Linked DNA regions of Homo sapiens: region 1 is linked to region 2. Evidence: promoter capture Hi-C in 16 types of primary human blood cells and fetal thymus (Javierre and others, 2016). All regions are on one chromosome and are shown on one strand. Each heading gives the region's core, a stretch centred on a gene start or on the middle of the fragment in contact. The rest is flanking DNA. Distances are from core to core; before and after follow the strand shown.

Region 1 (2,950 bases), core at 271-2,770, 490 kb after region 2:
TGTCTTCTTTGTCTTGTTTGCTAGTCTCATGCTATCATGATTATTTCTCCAGATCTCTCTGTAGCTCGCAAATTCTCTAATGTATTGTTTAACCCTTCCATTAACTTTTTTAAAACTGCAGTATAGGCTGGGCACGGTGGCTCACGCCTGTAATCCCAGCACTTTGGGAGGCCGAGGCGGGCAGATCACAAGGTCAGGAGATCGAGACCACCCTGGCTAACATGGTGAAACCTTGTCTCTATTAAAAATACAAAAAAATTAGCCAGGCATGGTGGTGGACACCTGTGGTCCCAGCTACTTGGGAGGCTGAGGCAAGAAAATGATGTGAACCTGGGAGGCGGAGCTTGCAGTGAGCCAATATCACTTCACTCCAGCCTGGGCAACACAGCCAGACTCCGTCTCAAAAACAAACAAACAAACAAACAAACAAACAAAAAAACTGCAGTATAATTTACATACAGTCCAAGTCGCTGTTTCTGATGCATACTTCAGTTTTGATCAATGCACACAGCCATGTAACAACCATCAGCATCAAGATACAGAATCTTTCCACAGCCCCCCAGAATTCCCTCTTGTCCCTCTGAAAGTCAGTCCTTCCACTGCCCCAGCCCCTCGTGACTGCAGAGCTCTTCTCTGTTGCTATAGTGTTGTCTTTTCCAGAATGTCATATAAAAACAAAAACTGCAGCCTTCTAAGTGTGGCCTCTTTCACTCTGCATAAGACATTTCAGGCTTATCCCCGCTGCCCCCAGCATCAGTGGCCCAGTCCTGTCTCCTGCTGAGTGCTGTTTTATGGAACCGGTGGGCTGCCGTTTGTTTACCCATTGGCCAGTTGAAGAGTGTCTGGGTTGCTTTCAGTTTTAGGTAAATGAATAAAGCTTCTGTGAACACTTGCATCATTTTTCATTGTGGTTACAGTATTTGGTTATTGTGTGGACATATGTCTTCATTTCTCTGGTATAAAGAATGAGGGGCAGGATTGCTGGGTCATACAGTAAATGATTGTTTTATTTTATAAGAAACTGCCAAACTGATTCCAGAGGGCTCCACTATCTTGTAGTCCCACCAACAAGGTATGAGAATTTCTGTTGTTCCACACCCTCACTAACACTTGGTTTTGGTCTTGTCTTTTTTTTTTTTAAGGCATTCTCACGGGTGTGCAGTAGTTTCTCATTGTGATTTTTATTTGCATTTCCCAGAGGACAGTGCTTATTTGCCACCTAGAGAGCTTCTTTGGTGGAGTGTCTGCTCAAATCTGTTGCCCACTGTACAAAATAAGTTGTTTTTGTATTAGTGAGCTTTGACAGTTTTTTGTATGTTCTGGTTACACGTCCTTAATCAGCTACATGACTGGCAAAGGTTTTCTCCTGGTAACTTGTCTTTTCATTCTCTAAACAATGGTTTTCACATAGCAAGAAGGTTTAATTTTATTAAAGTATGACTTGCCAATTTTTTTCCTTTTATAGGCTCTATTTTTGGTGTCATATCTAAGAAATGTTTACTTAACCTATAGTCACAAAACTTTTTTCCTATGTTTCATAGTTTTGAATTTCATGTTTGGGTCTATGATTCATTGAGTTAATTTTCTATGGGGTGTGAGGTAGGGATCAAGATTACTTCCATTAAGTTTTGAATTTCAATTATTACATTTTTCATTTTTAGAGGTTCTATTTGGTTCATTTATTATCTGCTTAGCCTCTGATACTCTCTTGCTTATTTATGCTTTTTAGCTTCTCCTTTGTTTCTTCAAACACATTAAACATATTTGCATTTCCTATTCTAACATCTGAGTCTTTGCAGGTGTGCTTCTTTTGGCCATAACTTCTGAGGCCCCTTCTCTTGTGTGTGCTGTGATTTTCCACTATGAGCTTATAGTCTAGGGATCCTGCTGGCTGGAATTCCTTGAGGCCTGGGTTGGGGGTTCCTCCTGCAAGGACATACATTTCTTTCTACCAGAGGCCTGGGGGCACTATAGCTCCAGATATGCTTGCAATTAAAAGTCACAGTTTGCAGTTCTTTTGAACATGTAAATAATATGAACTTTGGCCCTATACCTGTGATGGAGAGTGCTAGCCAGGGGCCATAAATTTATAGGAGAGACTTTTTAAAGATGTTCCATCCACAGCCATGGCCAAGTGAGATACTGTTTCTGCAGTGAAGCTTAGAGTAGTAGTTTGCCCACTTCATCATTTCCTGGTAGTGTTTGCTGTATCCCTCTGTGAGCCCAGCCTTATATGGGGGTCTCCAATTTGGTTCTGCCCCTCCCTGGGCCCAAGGCTTCTCCAGACTGCTCCCCAAACTTACCTCAAAGTTCTAGGTCATCTGGGTCCATGGGGACCCAGGCCATAGAGTGTCTTTAGCACAGAACTACCTCCTTAGACTTCAGCCCTCGCCTGGTTTCTAGACTCACTATCCTGCAGACTCATTCACGGTTTTATATATTTTATCTGGCACTTTTTGAAAATCTGGCATTTTTAGATGTTTTGTTGAGATAGATTTTCAGGTTCTCTCATCTACCATATTACCAGAAATAGAAGTCCTTGTCAGAGTGATTTTTCACAGAAATCATTGTAAATATTTTTGAAAAATTATACTATACAGCAAAGCAAGCTCTCCCCTAGAGAGCAAATATATGTAAAAATTACAGGGTCAGAGTTCCTTGACACTCGGCCCCTCCCCACCTCCAGAAGCCCATGCAGGGAGCCTCCTCAGCTCTGTTTAACGGCTGCCTCCAAAAGGAAGGGGCTCAGTCCAGCCCCACTCTGGCCTAAGGGCCCTGAATGATGAGTGTGAGATGCAGCTCCCACAAAGCCCAGCGGCCACTTACCTTCCGCTGTGCAGCAGCAGGCCTGGAGCGGCTGAGGGCTGCACAGCTTTTTACTGCTGGTGGTGTTTCAGCTTTCGGAGCTGCTGCATGTGCAGAGGCTGCACAGCCAATCTGGCCCCCTGTG
Region 2 (3,063 bases), core at 127-2,626:
TCAGGGGAAAAGGATCAGAGGGGAGGCTGGGCCCCAGGCCGGGGCGCAGGTGCACCTGACAGAGGCCCCATCTTCCACCGGGCACCAGCCGAACACCTCGCAGGTCTTGGAGGGCCCCTGGTAATAGGGCACACAGCGCCCAGTCCTCAGGCCTGGGAGGCAGAGGTCACTGAGGCATTAGCGGGGACGCAGCCCTGCCCCACCCGCCCAGCCCCAGCTGGCGCACACCGACCGTTTCCCAGCATGTCCAGCTCCCCAGCCACGCAGTCGGCGTCGGAGAGGCAGGTGGCGTTGTGGACCCTTATGCTCTAGGGTGGAGGCGGCCCAGTCAGGGACCCCGCAAGGGACAGCTGGCCCGCCTAGCTGAGGCGGGGTCCCCCAGCGCCGCGGGATCCCCTCACCTCGGGGCAGGTTCCCTGGGTCTGGGAGTGGGTGGCCTCGACCCTGGTGATGATGCTGAACACGCTGCCCCCCTGGGCTCAGAAAGAGGGGGCGGTCGGCCAGGCGGCAGCCGCTGCCCCCTCCGCCCACTAGGGTAGGGTGCACGGCGGGGCGGGGGGCAGGGGGCGGCCCGCACCTCGGGGGGCTTCACGTACTCCTCCACGTCCCACACTTTGTGCTCGGACGTGGTGATCCCCTTGACCTTGGTGATGATGGAGCTCTCGGGGCCCGTCTCGCTCTCCTGGTAGCTTTTCTGCACGATGAATACGTACCTGCGGGCAGGGGCGGCGCCGGCTCCGGAGGCGACCCTGGGAAGGCTGAGTCCCGCCCGCAGGCACGGCAGGGGCCCTCCCGCGACCCGGGTCCGCTCTGCGGGGCTCTTGGGGCCTGCCCCGCGCCCTCGGTCCCAGCCCCAGCCCCTGCCCCGCGCCCCCGGTCCCAGCCCCAGCCCCTGCCCCGCGCCCCTGGTCCCAGCCCCAGCCCCGCGCCTCCAGCCCAGCACCCCGAGTCCCAGCCCCTGCCCCACGCCCCCAGTCCCAGCCCCTGCCCCGCGCCCCCAATCCCAGCCCCTGCCCCGCGCCCCCGGTCCCAGCCCCAGCCCCTGCCCCGCGCCCCCGGTCCCAGCCCCAGCCCCAGCCCCGCGCCTCCAGCCCAGCGCCCCCAATCCCAGCCCCTCCCCTGCGCCCCGCACCCCGCGCCCCGCACCCCGCGCCCCGCGCACCACACGAAGTAGAGCAGGATGAGCAGCTGCACGGCGCGGTACAGGACCCCCAGGCGCCGGTTCCTCACCACGATCACCTTGGGCGTCTCGTAGTCCCAGAGGGCGGACCAGCAGCCCCGGGCCAGGCGCCGGGCGGTCGCCCCGGCGGGGTACTTGGGCTGGGCGGCGGCCATGGCGCGGGCGGCCCCCACCTCCAGGAAGGCGCTGCAGGGCTGAGGGTCGGCCCCGCTGCGCACCGAGAGCGGGGGGCGCGCGGCGGGCGGGTAGCTCGCGGCTCCGCCTCCGGGGTGCGGCCTCGAGCCCGCCCCGCCTCGCCCCGGCCCCGCCCCGCCCCGCAGGTGTCCCGGGAGTCCCGGGTGTCCCAGGTGGGGCTGGGAGCGGGGCCTCGCGGGGACAGAGCCGGGGGCGCGGCAGCCCAGCCCCAGCTCTTGGTCCAGGTGGGGGCCGAGCGCGGAACCGGCGGTCTCGAAGTTGGAGGGTCGGGATTCCCCGGGTGGGAACTTTTTCCGAGCTCGAGGAGAAAGACATGGGAAGTCCCGCCGGCCTCCGCGGCGCCCCCCACCCCGTCCAGGCCGGTTCCTGCCGCGGCTGCCGGGGCTTCGAGCGCAACCTGCACTCCCGCCTTTGCCAGCAGACGCCTCGCTTCCAGCTCCTGCCTCCGCCGCAGCTCCAGCCCTCGAGCTGGAGAGGGATCCACGGCCGATCCGTTTTCTTCTTTGCAAGCCAGAGTTTTCTTTCTTTCTTTCTTTCTTTTTTTTTTTTTTTGGTAACTTTTCGAACCTCCACCCCACCCACATTATTTTGAAGCAAATCCCAAGCATCACAGTTTTTCACAAAATAATTTTAAAATAGTTTATTATGATAAAATCAGCATAGCATGTAATTAACTATTTTAAAGTAAACAATTCAGTGACATTCACAACATTGTGCAACCACCACCGCCTCTGTTTCGTCCCCAAACACTTTCCCCACCCCAAAATAAAACTCCCATCCATTAAGCAGTCACGACCCGTTCCACACTCCTCCCATGCCCTGGCAACCACTGGTCGCTTTTCTGTCTCAGTGAATGGACTTGCCTGTTCTGGATATTTCATATCAAGGAAATGCAATATTTGTTTCTGGGTTAATGCCTTTTCTGTCTGGCTTCATTCACTGAGCATGTTTTCAAGGTTCATCCACATTGTAGCATGTGTCAGGGCATCACCCCTTCTTATGGCCAGGAGAAATGTCTAGGCTATCCAAAGAAGGAATTTAGATTGCTTTCAAACTAACTCTGTGAATAGTGCTGTTATAAACACTGGTGCATAAGTATTTGTTTGAACTGTTAAATTAACTCAATTAACAGGCTGCCTCTGTGCCTTGAGTTTCTAGGTAACAACAAACTGCAACCTAATGTACCACAGAAACAAGCTAAAAGCTTAACCTATGAGTATATTTTGGAACAAATAGCTGGGTCTCAGCCAGTCACAGGCTGCTAACTGATCTGATCATGCCATATAAGGCAAACATTTCAAGCAGTAACAAAATCAAGCTAATTGTGATTTTTTTTTTTTTGTATCTCACTTCTGTGTTCTATCTATAAAAACTTCCTGCCCACATTACAGAGTGGAGCTCTCGAACCTCCCCCATTGGTTCTGAGTGCTGCCCAATTCATGAGTTGTGTTTTGCTCAATTAAACTCTGTTGGCTGGGCACAGTGGCTCATACCTGTAATCCCAGCACTTTGGGAGGCCAACATGGGTGGATCACTTGAGATCAGGGGTTCGAGACCAGCCTGGCCAACATGGCGAAACCTCGTCTCCACTAAAAACACAAAAGTTAGCCAGGTGTTGTGGCATCTGTAATCTCAGCTACTCGGGAGGCTGAGGCAGGAGAATCACTGGAATCTGGGAGGTGGAGGTT

The links. Contacts are between HindIII fragments. The CHiCAGO score rates a contact against its expected background, and 5 or more counts as called.
Region 1: a fragment that was not itself captured here is called in contact with the fragment with the promoter of P2RX2 in region 2 in 2 of 17 cell types (M0 macrophages and total B cells); the score reaches 7.7 in M0 macrophages.

The regions. Positions count from the first base shown.
Region 1 is chr12:132,127,074-132,130,023 of GRCh38, reverse strand. It overlaps the pseudogene LOC107987169. Among named protein-coding and RNA genes, the nearest start is that of DDX51, 16 kb to the left of the region's middle. RefSeq lists an enhancer at 2,378-2,878. The HindIII fragment of the contact is 1,282 bases long and covers 880-2,161 here.
Region 2 is chr12:132,617,089-132,620,151 of GRCh38, reverse strand. P2RX2 (purinergic receptor P2X 2) reads right to left here and starts at 1,376. Exons shown (of 11, transcript NM_170682.4): 1 at 1,163-1,376; 2 at 578-713; 3 at 402-473; 4 at 233-308; 5 at 56-152. The coding sequence starts at 1,335. The HindIII fragment of the contact is 12,004 bases long and covers 1-2,581 here.